7 separate regions of the Homo sapiens genome follow, and regions 2, 3, 4, 5, 6 and 7 are each linked to region 1. Evidence: promoter capture Hi-C in 16 types of primary human blood cells and fetal thymus (Javierre and others, 2016). All regions are on one chromosome and are shown on one strand. Each heading gives the region's core, a stretch centred on a gene start or on the middle of the fragment in contact. The rest is flanking DNA. Distances are from core to core; before and after follow the strand shown.

Region 1 (3,057 bases), core at 352-2,851:
ACAAAAACAACATGAAGGTGGCCATTAAGACGCTGAAGGAGGGAACCATGTCTCCAGAAGCCTTTCTGGGTGAGGCCAACGTGATGAAGGCTCTGCAGCACGAGCGGCTGGTCCGACTCTACGCAGTGGTCACCAAGGAGCCCATCTACATTGTCACCGAGTACATGGCCAGAGGTGGTGCCCCCCGCAGAGCCGCATCCTCAGAGCGAGGCGGGAGGGCCGGGCTTAGCAGGAGGAGGAGGGTCCGCTGCGGTGGGTTCACCAGGCCAGGGGGTCCTGCAGATCTAGGGCATGGCACGGTGTGGGGACAGGGAGGGATGGAGGGAGGGGGAGGGACAGAGGGAGGGTGAGAAACAGGAGGGTGAAGTGGTTCTGACAGAGCCATGTTCTCAGCCCAGGAGCAGTTCAGACAGCATTTCTGGAGTGCATCTTCTGTGCCTAGCACTCTTTGATGCCTGCTGGGAGGGACAGAGCATTGCAAAGTCAGACGAACACCAGGCCAGGCATGCAGGGACAGTACTAGATCCAGGTCTCCTGCCTCCTGGTCATGCAACCATTTACAACTGTGTGAATATTTTACAAGGATGGCCAGAGAGGTTGGGCTTGATGGCCTCTGAGGTCCACGGCGTGGCCAAGTTCTCATGCCACTTTCTCACCCTCCTATGACCCTGACCGCACACTGCTCCTATAGGATCCTAACATGCCCATGTTGATATAGCTCCCTAACAACTGTCACCAAGGGGCCCCCGGTCGGAGGCTGTGCTGGGGGTGCCTCTAGCCTGCCCCTAGGGCAAGCATCCATCCCTCCCAGCTTTCTGATTCCAGGGGGAGCTGCATTTGTCCCCTGCACCAAACCTGGGGGACAGTTCTCTCCATTCTGGTGCTTTCTTGCTGATGCCTGGTCCTCAGAGGCAGAGGGTGTCTGCCAGCAGGGATCAAGGGAGCGAGGCCAACACGGGGGGAAAGACAAGAAGGGGCATGAAACTTCGAGTCAGAACTGGGGTCCCACTCCCAGCTCCCGGCTGGGTGACTTCAGACAGGTCCCTGCACCTGGCTGAAACCTAACTTCTGGGCAACTGCTGGTATATTGGCTGCCTCCCGGGGTGCTGAGACTGGCATTTTGTAAAGTGGAAGGCACTCGGCAGCAGTAGGTAGATCCTTCCTGATGCACCGAGAGATCTGAGGGTGCAAACTCCCACTTCCCGCGCCCATGGGGAGCCACTCACACCAGAGAGAGGCTGGCACCACCAGGGGCGGGTCACTTTGCAGAAGGGCACTTGCAACTTCTCTTTTCTTAGGATGCCTGCTGGATTTCCTGAAGACAGATGAAGGGAGCAGATTGTCACTCCCAAGGCTGATTGACATGTCGGCGCAGGTTGGTGAAGTACCAGGTGCAGAGAAAGGGCGGCATGTGCCACCTGCTGCCCACAATGGCTGCTCGTGCCTTACCACCCCATCCTCTCAGCCAGCAGGAGAAGTCAGGGGGTACTGAAGGCCACCTTCCTCTAGGCAGATATCCCCAAGGTCACCCACTGCACTTGGACTTGCAAACCCTGGCCACTGTGCCTCCTGCCCCACGCAGCTGTGAGGGAGCCCAGGGAATGGAGCCTTAGACCCGGGCTGCTGTGTTGGAATGAGGCTATTCTGTTCCGAAGGAAGAGAGGGCGAATGAATGTCATGGGAAACACACAGAGTTAGCAAGAGTTCCATTGAACCCGGCAGGCAAGTGTGTTCTGTTGTGACCTCATCTCTTCCTTAGATGGTGCCCACAAACATCTCCTGTAGGACTTCCCATCCCAGGGGCCCTCAGCCTTTGCACAGCCCTGGCGTCGACCCCAGGCTGATGGGCAGGCCTGAGCTACACACAGATGCCAGGGACATGACTTCTCTGAGCCCTGGAGGACAGCCCCACCTTCTGCCACCAGGGAATTGCGAGTGCTGGACCTCCTTGGCTACCCAGGACTGGTCCTCAGTGTCCCTCACGTTCACATGCAGAACTTTCTGGACTCCATGGGGTGAAGAGCAGAGTGGAGAGGAGGGTTTTAGCCGAGAGCTCTAGCTGGCAGGAAGCACATCTGGTGGCCCTGTTAAAACTGGAACTCTCAGCAGAAAAGTTTTGGTCTGTGGTCAGCCTGTGAGGCACACACGTGCGTACACATACACACACACATACAGCTGCCACCGAGAGGAAACGCTCCCACCCACCGCCCACATCAGCCCTCCCACCTCGCCCCTCGCCCAGCCTTACCCAGTAGCGCCGCTGCAGGAACTGATGCCACAACGCCTTTTTCCGCTGAGGTGGGCAGACAGCCATCTGGGCAGGCTGGTTTTGGAAAATGAGTGCTGGTAACCGGCTTCAAACCCCAGGGCAGTGATAAGCCTGCCCACTGCTGCTGCTTCCTTTCCCCTTCCTTCTCTCACCCTCCGCTGTCTCCTATTCAATCCCCACTACACCCCCTTGGGAAATCTCGTGTGACCCAGGGGCAAAGGATGTGAAAAGCCATCGGAGTTTAATACCTGGATGTAGCCACAGAATCGGGGGTGAGGAGCCAGAAAATCAGAACTTCCCAGAAGGGCAGCCTCTAACCACATGCTGACCATGCCAATGGCTCTCTAAGCACACATGTACACACACACACTCTCACACACATAAAAACACAGACTCACACACACACGGACAAACACAAACACATACACAGACTCACACAGACACGCAAACTCACACACAGACAGACACACACACAGACACACAGACTCACACACACAAACTCACACAGACACACAAATACACAGACTCAGACTCAAACACAAACTCACACAAACACATTTACACAAACTCACAAACTCACACACACAAACACACACACAAACACGCAAACTTACACACACATGAGCAGACACACACCCGGCCCTTCTGGGCTCTTCTTTTCTTACTCCATAGGAAGCCATGCAAAGTCTCGCCAGACCTTTCTTCCAAGGCCAGATCTGGCCAACCCCACAGGAACCCTGCAATCACAATCCCTCGGGCCCCACTTTGCAGCCAGATGCCACCGGTTC
Region 2 (3,057 bases), core at 381-2,880, 430 kb after region 1:
ATAAAATTGGAAAAAATGTCAAAAATTAGCTCTAAGTAAAAATGAGTTTCCCTAAAGACAGAGCTTGTTCTTACCCTTGAGGCTTCTCAGAATCTCTATTACGAATTCTAGATATCCCAGATAAATTCTAGATGTTGCTTTTAGACAATGCAGTTTTCACTACTGAATGAGTAAGATTTCAGGGAGCGATATTCAGAAAGAATTTTGAAGAGAGTTTGCTCCATATTGTGACAAATCCCTTCCCCATTTTGTTTCCATACAGATAGATTTGGTAAATAATTAAATTATTTTTTAAAAAGCTTTGGATCTTGGAATTGGATTTCTTTTGGAAGTGTCAATGTACAGAGACCAACCAAAGTTAGTGAATATCTGTTCAGGTTCCTTCAGCAAAGCTGGAGGGTGTGCATATAACATACACACTTTCTCTCAAAAGAATAAAGTTTGCAGCTACCTTGGTTGTTACAAAGTTCATTTCCTGACAGGGTATATGGCTTGTCAAGGGTAAGGTGAAGGCAGTGCAGGATTAGCAAATTTCTGTTGGAAGGAGCAGGGAGTTGGGATAAGCAGGTTTAATATTGGCTAGTGCGAATAGTAGAGCAGGGTCTAAGGCATAGAGGTTGCCTGGCCCTGATGTAATAGCCTTATTTTGATATCATGTAGCAGTGGAAAGTTCTGTCCATGCAGGACTTAGCCAGATTCCAGAGAGTACTTTCTAGCATAGAGAACGTAGATTCACTCCCTGGCTTTGGGGATCAGCTTTCTAGTTAGTCTGTAAAGTGTCATCACACCTCATTCTTCAGATTGTCAGCAGGCTGGATTGTTTTCAGGTTTCTCTTTATCTGTATGTGTAGAGAACTTGCACCCAACTAGGAGGAGTGAGATGAAAAGCAAGCCTAAGACTGTCCAGGACGTTATGAGGCCAAAGTTTCAGAAGATTTGGTGCTCTTCCAGTAGGGACCCCTCTGTCTCCCTCAGTGTCTGACAGTTTTCCTAGCCATGTCTGGATGCATTTACTCTGCACACTTAGTAACCATAGTTACAATTCCAGGCCATCTCTGATCCCATTCAATTTTAACCAAACTCCTTACAGTCTACATAGGGAGTCTGGGCCTCAGAGAGGACACATTCTACTGGATTTTTAGTACCTTCCTCTCCAAAGACACCAACACTGAATTTGCTCAAAGGTTGGACATTTGCTGGAAGTACAGAACTCCTTACAACCCCTCATGCTTTTTCACCTGCTGTTCTCTTTTCATCCCTTCCCAGCAGCCATGTGTGGTTGGGCAGGCAGTACTGTCATGTCAGCCCCAGAACTAAGACGCTGTATCCTTTTCCTTGTACCACATCAGCAACCAGCTATTTGCGGCAAGAGCCCCACACTCTCAGTCTCACATCACTAGAGAGCCTGAGCCATATCGAGCACTGAAGATCATGAAAGTTGCTCCATAGCCAGAATCTACTCTCCTTTGCCACCCAGTCTTTATCGTGAGCAGCAGATACAGAACTCACACATTCATGCATCCATAAGGGTGAATGTTGTTGAAAAATCAAGCAAGAATTCACCAGCGTAGCCAGTAGGGTCAGAAGCAACATGACAGAAGTTGCTAAGTTTTCCTGTTACACCTTCATAAAGTTTATTGGTAAAGAAAATCATGAGTCCAAATGCATTTAGGCAGTTTATTAGTTACACATATAGCAAAGCAAGATCAGCATGGTGTTAGCTCTTAAGCCACAGGATAACACCCATCCAGAGGAGTCAGATGACGGGCAGCAGAGGTGGCATCACTCTGCTGCTAAGGAACCAACACTAAACCACAGGACGGCAGTCTTATAGCCTGTAGCTGAACCCTAGGGGCTCAGGTGGGAAGTTCCATTGCTCAACTGAAACTAGGGAGGTGGATGAGAAATTACCTTGTTCCAGCCCATCACAAGATGGCCTCTCCTGTTCCAAAGGAACTTCAGGGTCAGACTCAGTGCAGACTCGGGCCAGCCTGTAGTTAAGCCCTGCCTATGCGGTTTATGTGAGAGATGTACAAGGTTGTCAGAAGGCCATGGCAAATCTGCTTCTCTAAAGTTGGGAATTTCACAGAAATGGGAAATGCGAAGCTGAAGCGAAGGTAGGACACGACTTAGGTGTCAAAAGTTGTTTCCCTTGAAGCCTTTCTAAATAATAAGAATATCCTCTATGATTAGAGGGAGAAACAGGTGCTGATGAGCACACTGGACATCACGTTGAGGTGAGAAAATATCTTCTACATTGTTTTTGTGAAAAACCGAGCTCTTTTAAAGAAGGCTACAGCTCAGCTCTTTAAATTTAAGACCACAAGAGTCTGCTGGCCTATAAAAATGCTAAAAACCAGTAGTCATGGACACATCATGGTGTCACAGTTTGATCTAAATTCCCTGGTTTTGTGAAAGATGGCAGAATCAAGGGCCTACAGGATAGTGGCCATTCATTGGTTTCTTATGTCAGGGTGCAGGATTTCCTTTGACACAGCACTCCAGCTGAAACATACAGTAGGCAACTAACATTTCACTCTCATAGCATTCAAGTCTGCAGATGCCATTTTTATAGCATTTCTTGTGCATTTCTGATGATAATGAATTTATACCTGGAAGGAAAATGAATAGAAAGATAATTCACTACAGGCCTTTTTGGACCATAAAATTGCTAGTCCCTCAATTTTTATCCAACCGGATACCAAGGAGATTTGGTTATGATAATTGATCCTGTAACTGAAAAAATTAATTAGTGGTAGGGGCTGAATTGTGTCACCCCAAAATTCATATGCTGAAACCCTCACCCCTGATGTGACTGTCTTTAGAGATAGGGCCTTCAGGAAGTAATATAAGTTAAATGAGGTCATGATGGTGGAACCCTAATCCAATAAGATTGATAGGCTAATCCAATAGGATTGATGGTCTTATTAGTGAAGGTCACGGCAAAAAGATGGCCATCTACAAGCTTGAAAGCAAGCTCTCATCAGAAATTGAATCAGCTAGCACCTTGATCTTGGATTTCTCATCTTCTGGAACTATGAGAAAATAAAGTTTGTC
Region 3 (3,057 bases), core at 162-2,661, 420 kb after region 1:
TCTGTGGATTTAAACCTGGGACTAACTCTTGTCGTGTGACCTTGGAAAATATTCTTCATCTGCCAAATGGGAGAAATTGTAGATTTTATTGTGTGGAGTAATTTCCCTAATAGATGTAAACCACTCAAGTGTGTGACTGGTGTGTGGTTAGCTTTTGTTTCTATGGCCAGAATATATCATTGCTTGGGCCTGTGAACTTGTATTAATCAATAGAATTTGAATTTTTATTATTATTTTTTGAGACGGAATCTCACTCTGTTGTCCAGGCTGGAGTGCAGTGTCGTGATCTCTTTTCAATGCAACCTCCGTCTCCCGGGTTCAAGCAATTCTCCTGCCTCAGCCTCCTGAGTAGCTAGGATTACATGCACCCACCACACCCGGAAGATTTTTGTATTTTTAGTAGAGATGAGGTTTCACCATGTTGGCCAGGCTGGTCACAAACTCCTGACCTCAAGTGATCTGCTCACCTTAGCCTCCCAAAGTGTTGGGATTACAGGCGGGCAGGCGTGAGCCACTGCGCCTGGCCTGAATTTGAATTTGAAAGAGGAATGAGTGATTGGAGATGGGAGGGTAGGAAAAATAACAGGGGATGCATTTCATGGCAGTGCTGCCTTTACAAAATGTTTCTGGAATTTTGCCAGTAAATTGTCAGAATGTGGTCCTCATTTCTGCCCATGGCTCACTTACGAGCTCTAAGATCCTGACACACAGATTAGGAGTGTAGTACTTTGAGCCATTCACATATCCTTTTAATGAACCCATGGATCTTTGGCTTGCGGGGGTTGAAAACGTGTCATATTTTTACAGCAAGACAGAATATTGTGGCAGAACGCAATCCACCTGTATCCTGGCGGACACCCGAAGAAACATACGGCTTTCTGGCTAGTGCAGGTGCGAACTTTGACTCCATCATTCCCAAACATACCTTTTCCTGAAGCGGGGAGAGACCACAGAAAAGAAAAATCAATCTTAATGAGGCTGGGAGAAATCCTAGGCTTGCCATCACCTCCTGGTTGATGGCTTGTTAGTTGTGATTTACCTCACCTCTTATCACAACTCAGCAAGGCAGATAAAGCTCAGGGTAGCCAGAGGCATTGGAGGGGAGATAGGAATCTGGGTGGCTGCACGATCTGTGTGCACAATGACATCCACCCCCGTCCCCGGTGCACTGGCAGATCTTCCAGCTGCAGCAACAGCAGAGCAGGGCAGGAGCTGGGGTCCGCTCACCATGCCCCTAACATGGTGGCCCATTTGATATTGGTGTCCTGTTGCTGGGCTTATAGTTAGAGGGTTTTTTAAGCATCTCAATCTTTGGGAACACCCACTTTTATGTTCAGACTCACGCCCACTGTCTTACCTGAAGGCAGTAAGATCACCAGGAAAAAGAGTAATGCAGAAAGACAGAGGTTCATGGCCGAAGAGGGCACAGAGTTGGAACTCCCAGTGGTGTCTGCCTGGGAGGCTCCTTTATAGAGCTGGGCTGGGCTGCGATGGGTGGGGCTGGACCCTGGCCTCACTCTTCCTGGAGGGGCAGACTGAGGAGATCACAGGGTTCTGCAGAATTCGAGGAAGAAAAGGCCCTGGCCTTTCAGTGCTACCTCCTTTTCTACAAACCGCGGGAAAACCAGAGACTCAGCTAAGGCTGTCACGTTTCCTGATAGCAGAATAGGAGAAAAGACCAGGATCCCCATGCCTAGGCCTGAGCGCTTTCCCTCTGCCTTCAAATGTACTTTGATATAAACATGGCAGTGAAAATGTCTGCTCTGTCTCTCCTTTCCTCTGGAGCACCACTGAAAGCTCAGGAGCGCAGAGAAAGGGTGTTATGAAACACAGGCTGAATTTAAGCCTGGAAAGACAGTTCCGACACACGGAGTCTCTCAAATTGTCAACCAGTGGCCTGACCAAGAGAAGGTAGGGGCTCAGAACTAGTGGAGAAGGGACAGCTTCCTTGTCTAGCAGCTGACTTATTTACCTGGCTGAAGGCAGATACTGCAAAAAAAAAAAAAAAAAAAAGTCCTGGAAAAGTTCACTGATGGACTTTGTTCTCCAAATGGCTGGTATGAAACGTTGGCTAGGATGAGGGGACTCTGAAGGTTCTAGGAGAGATTTCTTTTTTGGAGTTGAGGAGTTGAAACTCTCCCTTAGAAGAGTCGGTTCAGTGCTGTGTTCAAGGTTGGATGCACAGTGTCCAGAGTGGAGCCAGACAGGGCTTCTCTGGAGTGACAGAGACTCAGCCCTGGAGAAGGGCCCTTAGGCCTGTCTCTCTTGGGGTGATGAGGGATGTCTGAGGGTGAAGATGACACTAACTTTGATTTTGTTCTGACCCTTAAGGCAGGCTTTTACGCAGGCAGCCAACAACCACAGGGCTGTGTGTGGTGTGTCAGTGGAGCATGGTATTCCTGGGTACACTCTGCTTTGCAGGCCTAGACCCTCAGATGCATTATTTAGCATCTCAGCCTCAAGAACTCCTCAAAAAGTGCATTGGAAGGTTATGCGTGGTTTTTTTTCAGGATGAAATGAGATACAGCTTATAAAATGCTTTGCACGCACACTGCCATACAGTAGGTACTCAATATTATTATTATTATTGTTTTTTGAGACAGTCTTGCTCATCACCCAGGCTGGAGTGCAATGGCCCAAACTCGGCTTACTGCAACCTCCATCTCCTGGGTTCGAACGATTCTCCTGCCTCAGCCTCCGAAGTAGCTGGGACTACAGGTGCCCACCACCACACCTGGCTAATTTTTGTATTTTTAGTAGAGATGGGGTTTTGCCACGTTGGCCAGGCTGGTCTGGAACTCCTGACCTCAGGGGATCCACTTGCCTCAGCCTTCCAAAGTGCTGGGATTACAGGCATGAGCCACCCCACCCAGCCAATACAGTAAGCACACATATTCTTAATTTTCTGGTTCTTGCTTACTAATCTTTCCCTACTCCCAGGTCATAAAACTATTTCCTATATTATCTTTCTTTTTTCTTTATTATTTTTCTTTCTCATTTAGCTCTATAACCACCTGTGATGATTTCTGTGTATGGTATAAATTAGGGGTCCTATTT
Region 4 (3,057 bases), core at 223-2,722, 330 kb after region 1:
AGCCAGGATGGTCTCGATCTCCTGATCTCGTGATCCACCAGCCTCAGCCTCCCAAAGTGCTGGGATTACAGGCATGACCCAATGCGCCCAGCTTCTTTTTTTTTTTTTTTTGGCTGAGCCTCTGGGCTCCTCCTAATGACCCCCTGCGTCCTGCTTTCTCCCTCACGCCTGGCATGTCAGTCTCAACGCAGCGCCCGAGGGCTTCTTTAAAACCCAAGTCAAATCATACACTCCTCTGCTCAAAGGCCACCAATCGCGCCCACACCATCAAAGTAAAAGCCCAGGCCCAGGAAGTAGAATGGGGGCTGTCAAGAGCTGGGGAAGGGGGAGCTAGTGTTTAATAGGTGTAGCGTTTCAGCTGGGGGATGAGAAAGTTCTGGAGATGGATGGTGGAGATGGTTGTGCAACAATGGGAATGCTATAAACGTGGGTGGGGAAGACTTCAGAGGAGGAAGTTTTATGGGGGAGAGCAGGAGCTCAGTTTGGGGCATGTCAAGAATGAGATGCCTTATTAAACATTCGAGCCAAGACACTGAACAGAGCTGAGTCTGGAGTTCACAGAGAGCCAAGCTGGGGACATGGATTTGCAATCAATCAGTGCACAGATGGCATCAGTTCCACGGGACTGAGAGTTCACCAGCGTAGCGAGAACAGCCAAAACCAAACCAAACCAAAACGTTCTCCACAGGTCCCAGGAGTGAGCCAGAGACTTTAAGCTGAAAGGTCAGCCATCCAAGGAGGGATCAGGAAGGGGAAGAGGAGGAACAGCAACGAGGGAGGGAGGACCGCCGGAAGGGTGAGCGCTATGCTCGTGGGCTCGGGCGGAGTGGCACCTCGGGAGCTTCCTACTATCAGGGTTTGTGCCTGCACGAATCTGTCTACAGCCACTGCTAAATCTGAGGGCCATTGGGAGGCAGTTCAGGGTTTGGAGTTGTGTGAGGAGACAAGGTTAGGGATGGGAATTGAGGAGCAGTGCAGGAGGGCCGGGCGTGTAGGGAGGTGCCCCATTGAAGGGAGTGGGAGTGTGTGGGTTGGGGAGCAGCTGTTCAGAGGGGTCCACTGTGGCCCCCAGACTCTGGGCTGATCCCCAGAGTAAAGAAGATGGACATATCCTCTAGGGACCTGCACTGTCCCCTCACACCCCCATAAGAATGGTCTGGGGCTGCTGATAGAAGGCTCCTCAGTCAACTGACTTGGGGACTGACAGGGTCTGATGGTGAGAGGCAAGGACAGGAAGGCCTGCAAAAACGAGGCCTGGTCTGTGGTATGGTCTAAATAGTGACTTCCCTCAAAGTCACACAGTGACGTCCTAAGCCCAACTACCTTAGAATGTGACTATATTTGGAGATAAGGTTTTGATTTTTGTTTTGTTTTAGAGACAGGATCTTGCTGTGTTGCCCAGGCTGGAGTGCAGTGGCATGATCATAGCTCACTGTAGCCTCTTCTACCTGGCTGAAGCGATCCTCCTGCCTCAGCCTCCTGAGTAGCTGGGACTACAGGCATGCGCCACCACACCCAGCTGTTTTTTTAAACAGTTTGTAGAGACAGAGCCTCACTATGTTGCCCTGCTGGTCTCAAACTCCTGGGCTCCAGCAATCTTTTCGCTCCCACCTCCCAAAGTGCTGGGATTACATTGTGAGCCACCACACCCAGTCTTTGGAGACACGGTCTTTAAAGAGGTAGTTAAGTTAAACGAGGCTGTTAGGGTGGGCTCTAATTCAATCTGATTGGTGTCCTTATAGGAGGAGGGAGAGACATGAAGGCTGCACATACACAGAAAAAAAAAAAAACCCAACAACATGTGGGGACACGGAGAAGGCATAGCCTGAGGAGAAACCAGCCATGCCAACACCTTGATCTCAGACTTCTAACCTCCAAAACTGTGAGAAAACGAACGCCTATTGTTAAGTTGCCCAGCCTGTGGTATTTTGTTACGGAAGCCTGAGCAAACTAACACAGCCTGGCATTTTTGCTCTGAAGTTTACAGGATTGATTGGAATTTATGGGAATAGATTTATAGTTGCACAACTCAATGCTATGCAGGGATTTTCTCCAGCGTGATTCCTTTGGTGAAACAGTGGCCCCCACTTCCTACTGTCTGCCCAAACCCAAGCCAGCGAAAGTGTCCATTCACCCATCCATTCAGTCATTTACTCATTCATTCAACAAATATTTATTGAAGACTTACTGTAAAGGTCTTATAAAAGGTGATGGAACCTTGTCCATATCAGGGTTAGACATGGCTAAGTTCTGGGGAATTAGAACATATTATTAATCTCCATAACAAATACAGCTTTTGATGACACACAGAAACGAATGAAATCGGACACAAAGTCCCAATCAGTTTTTGGAAATAATCCACAAAATAAATGGAAGTTTCAGTTCCATAAACAACTAAATTGGATCCAGATATCAGATAATTCCACATTATATTGAAAAAGAAGAAATCGGGCCAGGCATCAGCATGTTGGGAGGCTGAGGTGGGCAGATCACTTGAGGTCAGGAGTTCAAGACCAGCCTGGCCAACATGGTGAAACCTTGTCTCTACTAAAAATACAAAAATCAGCCAGGTGTGCTGGCACATGCCTGTAATCCCAGCTACTCAGGAGGCTGAGGCATGAGAATTGCTTGAACCTGGATGGCAGAGGTTGCAGTGGGCCGATTGTGCCACTGCACATGGTTTGGCTGTGTCTCCACCCAAATCTCATCTTGAATTGTAACTGCAAGAATTCCCATGTGTCGTGGGAGGAACCTGGTGGGCAGTGATTGAATAATGGGGGCAGGTCTGTCCTGCACTGTTCTTGAGATGGTGAATGAGTCTCATGAAGTCTGGTGGCTTTAGAAATGGGAGTTTCCCTGCACAAATTCTCTCTTCGCTTGTTTGCCCCCATGTGAGATGTGACTTTCACATTCCACCATGATTGTGAGGCCTCTCCAGCCATGTGGAACTTTAAGTCCAATAAACCTCTTTCTTTTGTAAATTGCCCAGTCTCTGATATGTCTTTATCAGCAGCATAAAAATGGACTAATACCATCTTGTATACTGTTTGGTTAATA
Region 5 (3,057 bases), core at 371-2,870, 310 kb before region 1:
CAGCTACTCAGGAGGCTGAGGTGGGAGGATCACTTGAACCCAGGAGGTCGAGGCTGCAATAAGCTGAAATTACAACACTGCACTCCAGCCTGGGTGACAGAACAAGACCCTGTCTCAAAAATTAAAAGAAAAAAATGTAAATCAATCAGAAGTTGAAGTAAAAGTAAGTTATAATACAGTAATATGTATTTCGGTATGTGAATACTTGGGCAGTATATTAACCATGTCTTTTACTTTCTGAATTCTCATGCTTTGACACTTGGGCCTTGTGATATGGTTTGGCTCTGTATCCCCACTAAGTCTCATGTCAAATTGTAATCCCCACATGTTTGGGTAGGAACCTGATGGGAGGTGATTGGATCGTGGGGGTGGGTTTCCCCCTTGCTGTTCTCACCATAGTGAGTTCTCACAAGATCTGATGGTTTAAAAGACTTGTTTGCTTCCCCTTCACCTTCCACCATGATTATAAGTTTCCTGAGGCCTCCTACCCACGCTTCCTGTTAAGTCTGCAGAACTGTGAGTCAATTAAACCTGTTTTCTTCGTAAATTACCAGTCTCAGGTAGTTCTTTATAGCAGTGTGAGAATGGATGAACACACGTTGCTTACCCCAAAGGGGCTGCTGTTACGACATGGGATGTGGCAGTAATAATGACACATCACAGCAAATGTGTCTCTGAACTTGAAATCCCACCACAAGTTGAAGCCTGCCTTCTGTCTCAGCATGTCCGGTAGGATGATGGAAAGTCTTACCAGTCCTGGGTCAATTTCTCCTTGTGTGACCTGTCCTGAGCATTGCAGGATATCCAGTGTCCTCCCGACTAAACATCACTAGTGCCCTCCAATCATCATGGCAACCAAAACTTCCTTCAAAGATTTTCAAGAGATCCATGATGACAAACCACTAAATTGGATAACTCCCAAAGCACTCCCAGAACGAGCTCACTTCGATTCTAAGATCTCTGGGGTGTCACAGGTAAAGGAGATTGCCAATGAGATTTAAAGTCTGGGAGTTACTATCGCAGGCCATTGCCGTGACCTGACCAGAACATAAGACACAAAGGAACATGAATCTAAGAAGGAAATATGGCAAACCAAGCCAAGGCATTTACTTTTGAGGGCAAATCACAAGCTTTAAGGGAAAAATAAAAAAAAAATTACTTTTAGATCTTACAATCAGAATTGTGCAAGTAACTATAATTCTGGAAGTATGGTTCAGGGTGGGCACTCCTCGAGCCCCCAGGCTCTGAGGTGTGGAGCTGGTAGTGTGTCCATGGGGGTCAGGAGCTTGAAATATTGTGCTACATATGCCAAGTATGCTCACTCCATATGTCTCTGGAGAGAGGAAAGACAAGCAGCTCCACCCCTTGCTGTGTGGCTGTGGTCAATTTACTTGACCTCTCTGAGCTTATTCTATAATTAGTAACGCTGACCTCATATTCCTAATGTATAGGTAGTTGTAAGGATTAGATATTGCACACAAAGGACTTAGCTCAGTGCATGGTACTTAATAAAGGATGAATAAGCTATATGATAAACTATTCATTTTTTATACAGTATCGGATCATTCTCTTTTCAAATTTTCCACTAGAGGGTGCCAAACACTAGCCTGAAACTTGGAAAAACTGTTGTCCAGACTCCCCCTGCCCCAAACACCCAATTTGTAAAACATGCTCTCAAGATCCTAAGCACTGGTGTCAGCAAAAAGACTTGGCAGACTCTCCATTTGCTTTCCTCTTCACCCCTGAGAGGTCCTACACCTAAAATAAAGACGCTCAACTTCAAGACTGTTAGTTTTAATTAAACACTTCTTACAGGTGCATAGATAGTGTTAACTGTGATGTTGCCATGGCTTTAAATCAGCTGCATACACAAGACAGAGCTGCAGGGGCCGCCTGCCCCTGAGGCAGGCAATGAGGGATGTTTGTAGAGAATTTAAACACAATAACACAGCTGACTAAAAGTCAGTTCGCTTGTGATATCACCAAGTGCTAGCAACTCTAAATAACATCAGTGATAAAATACTGTTCTGCAAAAAAAAAAAAAAATCTTTTGTTGTTCAAAGTTCCAAATAATCTCTGCAGACATGATGGCATCTTAGCAATATGTATGTAAGCTTCAATTTGATACATTTCTTACTTACCATTAATAATTTTAATATATCTGGAAGTTAATTCAGAGAACTCCATGTGGTACAGAAGCGTCTTCCTAGTGGACTCAGCCACATACATTTTGTTGTTATCTGTTCACACACAGCGCCAGCCCGGAGTTTGCACCTTGAGCGACAACTGTCTCCAACCCCTACATCTAAATAGTAAATTCAAAACAAACCATAATAACTGTGATTGTAATGATGAAAGGAGTAGACCTTGGGTTATCTTACTTTTGTCATTTTATGTGATAAAAAATTTTAAATTTGTATTTAAACTTTAAAACCAAAACAGGCAGAGAATCATGAGGTCAATTTTTTACTGGCAAACTGCAAATTTAGTTCATATGTGATGCGTTCCTAAATTTGAATAATATTCAAATGAAAAAGTACTCTTTCTTTCAATTGTGTTTTGAAACTAGAGATTGTTCAACTGGTCAATTTTTTAAAAATGAAGAAACTACAGACTGACTCAAGAAAATAATGATTGCTAATGATTGCATGATTATCACTATAAAAATAATTTTGATGTATGGGGAGGGTGTTAAAAACTCTCCACTCCAGGTGTCAACTGTTCTAGGTCTACTTTTGTCTTAAATCCCAACTAAGTCGCTTTGCACATCCAAGAAAGGAAGGCCGACTGCCCTGGGAGAGCCCCCAGTGATGCGCTGAGAAGAATCCTAGTTGTGGGCAGATGGGATTGGCTGCTCTCCTGAGCATACACACTGCCCCTGGACTCCTAAGCCCTCCAAGCCCTGTCTCTTCCACTCCTGCACCCCTGGAGACCTTTTATTTAAGGAGGCCCTATTTGGGAAGATCTCAGAGCACTTTACAAATACCAACTTTGGTCTACAAGTGGGAGGAAGTTTCAATCTCTGTATCCTAGATGAAGGGGCAGGCTCAGGCAAGG
Region 6 (3,057 bases), core at 181-2,680, 310 kb after region 1:
CACGCGCCTGTAATCCCAGCTACTTGAGAGGCTGAGGCAGGAGAATCGCTTGAGCCCGGGAGGTGGAGGTTGCGGTGAGCCAAAATCACGCCATTGCACTCCAACCCGGGCAAGATTCCATCTCAAAAGAAAAGAAAAGAAAAAAAGAAATAGGCCAGGCGCAGTGGCTCACGCCTGTAATCCCAGCACTTTGGGAGGCCAAGGCAGGCGGATCACGACGTTGGAAGTTCAAGACCAGCCTGGCCAACATGGTGAAACCCCGTCTCTACTAAAAATACAAAAATTAGCTGGGTGTGGCATTGCGGGCCTGTAATCCCAGCTACTCGAGCGCTGAGGCAGGAGGATCCCTTGAACCAGGGAGTCAGAGGTTGTAGTGAGCCGAGATCACGCCATTGCACTCCAACATGGGCAAGACTCCTCAAAAGACAAGAAAAGAAATATATTACTACCAGAGTAGAATTCGTCCCTTCCTGGAACATCCAGGAAAGCTTCATGGAGAAAGGAACATACAGCATATTTACTTGTATATGTTCCTTCCTGCCCTCACTGGATCTTAAGCCCCACCCAGGCAAGCATTTTTACCTGCGGTGTTCCCCTGCTTCATCCCAGCTCATTGCAGGGTGTCTGGCCCATAGCAGAGGATAGAGAAATGTGAGTTGAGTGGATGCATAATGAATGAAGTAGGCCTTGAAGTTGAGGAGAATTTTGGCTTAACCTGCTAGATTTGGGGGTCAGGGTTCAGGGCCTGGGGAACAGCTCTCAGAACTTACAGAGAGGCCTTGACTCACGTGTGTAAAAGCTGTTTGCTTGTTGAACATCCGTAAAAGAGGCCTAAGTTAACACCTGAAAGAGGTGAAAACATACGTCCTCACAAAAATCCGCCGGGCACAGTGGGCTCACGCCTGTAATCCCAGCACTTTGGGAGGCAGAGGTGGGTGGATTACTTAAGCCTAGGAGTTCAAGACCAGCCTGGGGAACATAGTGAGACCCCAACTCTAAAACAAAAGTTAATAACGTATGTATAAACTTACACCAGATGTTTATAGCAGCATTATTTACAGTAACCAAAAGGTGAAAACAACTCAAATGTCCATCCATTAAAAACCATTGCACGAATAAACAAACTGTCATAAATCCACCAAATGGAGTTTTATTCAGTCGTAAAAAGGAATGAAGTAGTCACACATGCTACAACATCGATAAACCTTGAAAACGTTTACTAAGTAAAATCAGCCAGGTCCAAAGGACTCAGTATTGTATGATTCCGTGAAATCCACATGGGAGGTTAGGTAGGTGACAGCTAAAGGGTGTGGGGTTTCTCTGGGGGCTAATATGAATTTTTTTTTTTTGCCGAGACAGAGTCTCGCTCTGTCGCCCAGGCTGGAGTGCAGTGGTGCGATATCGCCTCACTGCAACCTCCGCCTCCCGAGTTCAAGCAATTCTGCCTCAGCCTCCTGAGTAGCTGGGGTTACAGGCACCCGCCACCACACTCCCCTAATTTTTGTATTTTTAGTAGAGACAGGGTTTCACCATGTTGGCCAGGCTGGTCTCGAACTCCTGACCTCGTGATCCACCTGCCTCGGCCCCCCAAAGTGCTGGGATTACAGGCGTGAGCCACAGGGCCCAGCCTAATTTTGTATTTTTTGTAGAGACGGTGTTTTCCCATGTTGCCCAGGCTGATCTCAAGCTCTTGAGCTCAAATGATCCTGCTGTCTCCGCCTCTCAAAGTGCTAGGATTACAGGTGTGAGCCACCTCGCCCAGCCTGATTTAACTTTTTAATTTTTAAAAATTATCCTTGAATACGCTACAGTGCCCAACTATTCAGTGTTGAAATGAACTGGATTTCTTATTTGGCTGTGATTGTTTCCAGTATTTTCAGAAATATGTCTCCATTCCTATCTAAACTCTAAGTTGGTTGGTGTAGGGTGCTGTCTTATTCATTTCTATTTCTCCTTCCTCTCTTCTCAAAGGACTTTCGTGCCCTTTACCCCTCCTTCCAGCAGGGAGGTATGAGCCGTGCCTCTGGGCTCCTTCTTCTTCCTCCCGACAGCTCCCTTTCTGTGGTGTGACTGTCATCAGAGGGAGGGAAATTACAGTGCCTTGGCTTCAGAGAACTAAGTTTCTGGTTCTAGCCTTATGAGGGCTGACCACATTGTTTTTTTTTTTTTTCTATTGGCTTCCAGAAGGATTCCTCTTTATTCTCCTACAGTGTCTCCTTTGTGGCTTATCCTACTGCGAGAGCACTTGTTTAACTGCGAGCAAAAGAGATGGCTGCTCCTCTAATACCGGTGGGGGCCTCGACTTTCACATGAACTCCCTCGGAAGGGAAGCCATGTCTGCAGCCAGGGTCTCAGCAGATGTCCACAGCCCCCAAAGCTTTGCCTCCAGAGGCCACCACTTCCCACCATTTCTGTTTCTGGTGGGGCCCCTTCAATTCTAACTATGGCCTCCCCACCACAGAAGAGCAGGGTTTACTCACTTGTCCTCTTCCATGAAGAGCAAATGTATTATCTCACTTGGGGTTTCAGTTGCCCTTGTAGTTTTATTTATTTTTATTTTTCATTTATTTAATTAAAAAAAAAGTTTGAGACAGGGTCTCGCTCTGTCACCCAGGCTGGAGTGCAGTGGCAGGATCTTGGCTCACGGCAACCTTCACCTCCCGGGCTCAAGCAATCCTCCCACCTCAGCCTCTGGACTACCTGGGATCACAGACGCATACAACCATGCCTGGCTGTTGTTTTTTATTTTATTTTTACAGATACTGGGTCTTGCCATGTTGTCCAGGTTGGACTCAAATTCCTGGGCTCAAGCAGTGTGCCCGCCTTGCCCTCCCAAAATGCTGGGATTACAGGCATGAGCCACCACACCCAGACCTTGAATACAGTCACATTCTGAGGTACTAGGGGTTAGGGTTTCAACATACAAACTTTTGGGGGCCTAATTCAGCCCATAATACTATGCTTGAGAAGAGGGCTGCTTCAGAGGCAGGCTGTTTGGAAACTCTGGAGAAAAACGGGGTGAGAACATTCTGTTTCTTTTTTTTTTTTTTTTTTAAG
Region 7 (3,057 bases), core at 1-2,500, 300 kb after region 1:
TAAACGGCCTTTGCATGGATTTGTAGAACAGCTTGAGACACTTTCCCAAGTGAGTGATATGAAACAGTTAAGAGCCTGTCTGTGTGATTACACCCTAAGTGGAGGACCCAGGGGACAGGGAAATGTAAGAAAAGTTACAATCCAGGAGTCCTAGTTTCGACAGGACACAGACAAACAAGCTCGGTGTGGGCTGGTGGAGGTTGAGGCTGAGAGGTGGGGCTGGGCTGGCCATCCACCCACTCCCGGGGCCTCTCTGGTTTTTCCAGTCAGCCAAGGGCTCTGCTTCCGGCTGCGGAGATGAGGCTTCTGAGAAGGAAAACTCTCACCTCGATGCCCCAGCCGTTTGATCTTGCACTGGCTCATGAGTCACAAGCCAGTGCTTTCCAGCTTGAACTCTGAGTCACCCTCCTAAGTGAGCAGCTCAACAAAAGCAATACATGTCTCCTGGGCGCCTGCATCCAGGGCTGGGGAGAGCCGCGGCGCGGGGAGCTGGGTGAGGCAGGGGTTCCTGTCAGTCACTCCAGGGGCTCCCACGGGTGGGTGAGGTGTTCTACCTCCCACAGGTCACAGGTCGTCATGAAAGTCACAGGACTGCGGTGTCAGTGCTTAACAAACTGCCTGGCACCTAGGGGTTCTATCTGAAGAACAATTTAAACTTCATTGTTGCTTAAGCAACAATTCATCTAGGAGAATAAATATATGAGGACAGCAAGATGGCTCTGGAAAAAAGCTTTTTTTTTTTTTTTGAGACAGGGTCTTGGTCTGTGGGCCATGTCACCCAGTCTGGGGTACAGTGGCACAATCTTGGCTCACTGCAGCCTCCACCTCCCAGGTTCTTAGCCTCCCAAGTAGCTGGGATTACAGGTGTGCGCCACCACACGCACCTAATTTCTGTATTTTTAGTAGAGATGGGGTTTTACCATGTTAGCCAGGCTGGTCTCGAACTCCTGACCTCAGGTGATCCACTGGCCTCAGCCTCCCAAAGTGCTGGGATTACAGGTGTGAGCCACCGCACCCAGCCAGTGGAAAAGAGCTCTGACGGGAGCCCAGCCCTCTGGGGCAGCACATGTGTCGTAAAATGCTGGGTGATGCTCATCAGCACAGCACCCAACGGACCACTCAGAAGCACATCCTCCGTGGAGGAATCAGCGTTACCTAGGTGAGGCCAGAGAGGAAACAGGACAGTGCTTGTACAAGTGGCTGCCTGAAGTCTGAATCTTCACACTGGACTCCTCACACACAAAAAGTACCACATGCAACACAGAATTGTTTTGTTTTTTTGAGACGGAGTCTTACTCTGTCCCCCAGGCTGGAGTGCAATGGCATGATCTCGGCTCACTGCAACCTCTGCCTCCTGGGTTCAAGCTATTCTCCTACCTCAGCTTCCCGAGCAGCGGGATTACAGGCATGTGCCATCATGCCCAGCTAATTTTCATATTTTTAGTAAAGACAGGGTTTCACCATTTTGGCCAGGCTGGTCTCGAACGCCTGACCTCGTGATCCACCTGACTCAGCCTCCCAAAGTGCTGCGATGACAGGCGTGAGGCACCGCACCAGGCCCACAGATCTTAATTTAAAAAGTTTTATGAAAAAAATCAATGCCCTTTGAAAAACAGGCTGGGTGCGGTGGCTGATGCCTATAATCCCAGTACTTTGGGAGGCCAAGGCAAGTGGATCACTTGAGGCCAGGTGTTCAACACCAGCCTGGACAACATTGTGAGACCCCATCAATATAGAAAATAAAGTTTTTTAAAAAGGTAATGCTGGAGGAAAGCTTAGGATTGACAGGAAACACAGCCTTCAAGGGAAAATGCTTGCATTACACTGAAAAGTCTCTTTAAAACAAAAACTGACGAAACAAAGCAGTACTCACATATACTTTAGGCTTCGTTTCCACAAAAGGCTCTTCAAAGTCAGAAAAATGGAACCAGCATAATAGAAAAACTACAAATGGCCAACACAGATAAAAATAAGTTCAACCGGCATGGTGGCTCAAGCTTGTAATCTCAGCACTTTGGGAGGCTGAGGCAGGTGGATCGCCTGAGGTCAGGAGTTTGAGACCAGCCTGGCCAACATGGTGAAACCCCGTCTCCACTAAAAATACAAAAATTACCCAGGTGTGGTGGCAGGTGCCTGTAATCGCAGCTACTTGGGAGGCTGAGACAGGAGAATTGCTTCAACTCACTTGAACCCAGGAGGTGGAGATTGCAGTGAGCCAAGATTTCACCACTGCATTCCTGCCTGGGTGACAGTGAGACTCTGCCTCAAAAATAAAATAAAATAAAGTAAAATAAGTTCAACCTCAGGGAGGTGCAGATAAAATCAAGGAGGTATTCAGCATGTATCAGATTGGCAAGGGCTGGACAGTTTGGCACTTCTTGCAGGGCTTAGGAAGTGGGGAAACGGAAGGCATGATAATGAGTGCCTGGGGTGGGTGGGCACAACCACCGAGACATCAACCAGCAACGCCCACCAGTTTCTAAATCTGCATGTCCTGGAAATGAATCAAGTATCCAATAACAGAGTAACTGTTAAATTACGGTAAGTGGTTAAATAGAATATGAAGCAACCATTAAAAAAGCAATTAGTTGGTGGGGCACGGTGGCGCATGCCTGTAGCCGAGGCGGTTGGATCACCTGAGGTCAGGAGTTAGAGACCAGCCTGACTAAGGTGGTGAAACCCTGTATCTACTAAATACAAAAAATTAGCCAGGCGTGGTGGCGCATGCCTGTAATCCCAGCTACTTGGGAGGCTGAGGCAGTAGAATCACTTGAACCCAGGAGGCAGAGGCTGCACTCCAGCCTGGACGACAGATTGAGACTTCATCTAAAAATAATAATAATAAAATAAAAGTAAAAAACCAACTAGTTGAAGTGAATTCTATTGTATTAACAGAGTAAAAATGCCCCAAGTCCCAATGTTAAGTGGGGAAAAAGCAAGCTGTGGGTGACTGAGGACCATAAGCATCTGACCCTCTCAGCAATCTACACATGTAGGAACACTCCTGCCACTACATGCAAAATGCCAAGGAAGATGCACGGCAGTCGGTCACTACGG

The links. The method cuts DNA at HindIII sites, captures the fragments that hold promoters and counts their contacts. A CHiCAGO score of 5 or more calls a contact.
Region 2: a contact is called between a fragment that was not itself captured here and the fragment with the promoter of BLK-AS1 in region 1, in 10 of 17 cell types (M1 macrophages, activated CD4 T cells, monocytes and 7 more). The highest score is 9.3, in M1 macrophages.
Region 3: a contact is called between the fragment with the promoter of DEFB136 here and the fragment with the promoter of BLK-AS1 in region 1, in 16 of 17 cell types (non-activated CD4 T cells, activated CD4 T cells, naive CD4 T cells and 13 more). The highest score is 16.2, in non-activated CD4 T cells.
Region 4: a contact is called between a fragment that was not itself captured here and the fragment with the promoter of BLK-AS1 in region 1, in 2 of 17 cell types (naive B cells and total B cells). The highest score is 7.7, in naive B cells.
Region 5: a fragment that was not itself captured here is called in contact with the fragment with the promoter of BLK-AS1 in region 1 in 2 of 17 cell types (naive B cells and megakaryocytes); the score reaches 6.4 in naive B cells.
Region 6: a fragment that was not itself captured here is called in contact with the fragment with the promoter of BLK-AS1 in region 1 in 2 of 17 cell types (naive B cells and total B cells); the score reaches 6.4 in naive B cells.
Region 7: a contact is called between a fragment that was not itself captured here and the fragment with the promoter of BLK-AS1 in region 1, in 1 of 17 cell types (total B cells). The highest score is 5.9, in total B cells.

What each region holds. Positions count from the first base shown.
Region 1 is chr8:11,556,664-11,559,720 of GRCh38, forward strand. BLK-AS1 (BLK antisense RNA 1) reads right to left here and starts at 1,602. Exons shown (of 5, transcript XR_948956.3): 1 at 1,227-1,602. It overlaps BLK (BLK proto-oncogene, Src family tyrosine kinase), which reads left to right. Exons shown (of 13, transcript NM_001715.3): 9 at 1-174; 10 at 1,299-1,375. RefSeq lists an enhancer at 1,772-2,061. The HindIII fragment of the contact is 8,296 bases long and covers 1-3,057 here.
Region 2 is chr8:11,991,511-11,994,567 of GRCh38, forward strand. DEFB134 (defensin beta 134) reads right to left here. Exons shown (of 3, transcript NM_001302695.2): 3 at 1,664-2,612. The coding sequence ends at 2,470. Among named protein-coding and RNA genes, the nearest start is that of DEFB134, 7.7 kb to the right of the region's middle. The HindIII fragment of the contact is 2,666 bases long and covers 298-2,963 here.
Region 3 is chr8:11,973,188-11,976,244 of GRCh38, forward strand. It overlaps DEFB136 (defensin beta 136), which reads right to left and starts at 1,412. Exons shown (of 2, transcript NM_001033018.2): 1 at 1,358-1,412; 2 at 750-931. The coding sequence starts at 1,412. The coding sequence ends at 750. The HindIII fragment of the contact is 18,049 bases long and covers 1-3,057 here.
Region 4 is chr8:11,887,606-11,890,662 of GRCh38, forward strand. No RefSeq gene overlaps it. Among named protein-coding and RNA genes, the nearest start is that of CTSB, 21 kb to the left of the region's middle. The HindIII fragment of the contact is 3,746 bases long and covers 1-3,057 here.
Region 5 is chr8:11,245,485-11,248,541 of GRCh38, forward strand. It overlaps LINC00529 (long intergenic non-protein coding RNA 529), which reads right to left. Exons shown (of 5, transcript NR_170283.1): 5 at 1,780-2,305. Among named protein-coding and RNA genes, the nearest start is that of LINC00529, 37 kb to the right of the region's middle. The HindIII fragment of the contact is 984 bases long and covers 1,129-2,112 here.
Region 6 is chr8:11,870,262-11,873,318 of GRCh38, forward strand. No RefSeq gene overlaps it. Among named protein-coding and RNA genes, the nearest start is that of CTSB, 3.7 kb to the left of the region's middle. The HindIII fragment of the contact is 1,889 bases long and covers 487-2,375 here.
Region 7 is chr8:11,853,760-11,856,816 of GRCh38, forward strand. All of the region lies in intron 1 of CTSB (cathepsin B), which reads right to left. Among named protein-coding and RNA genes, the nearest start is that of CTSB, 13 kb to the right of the region's middle. The HindIII fragment of the contact is 1,044 bases long and covers 729-1,772 here.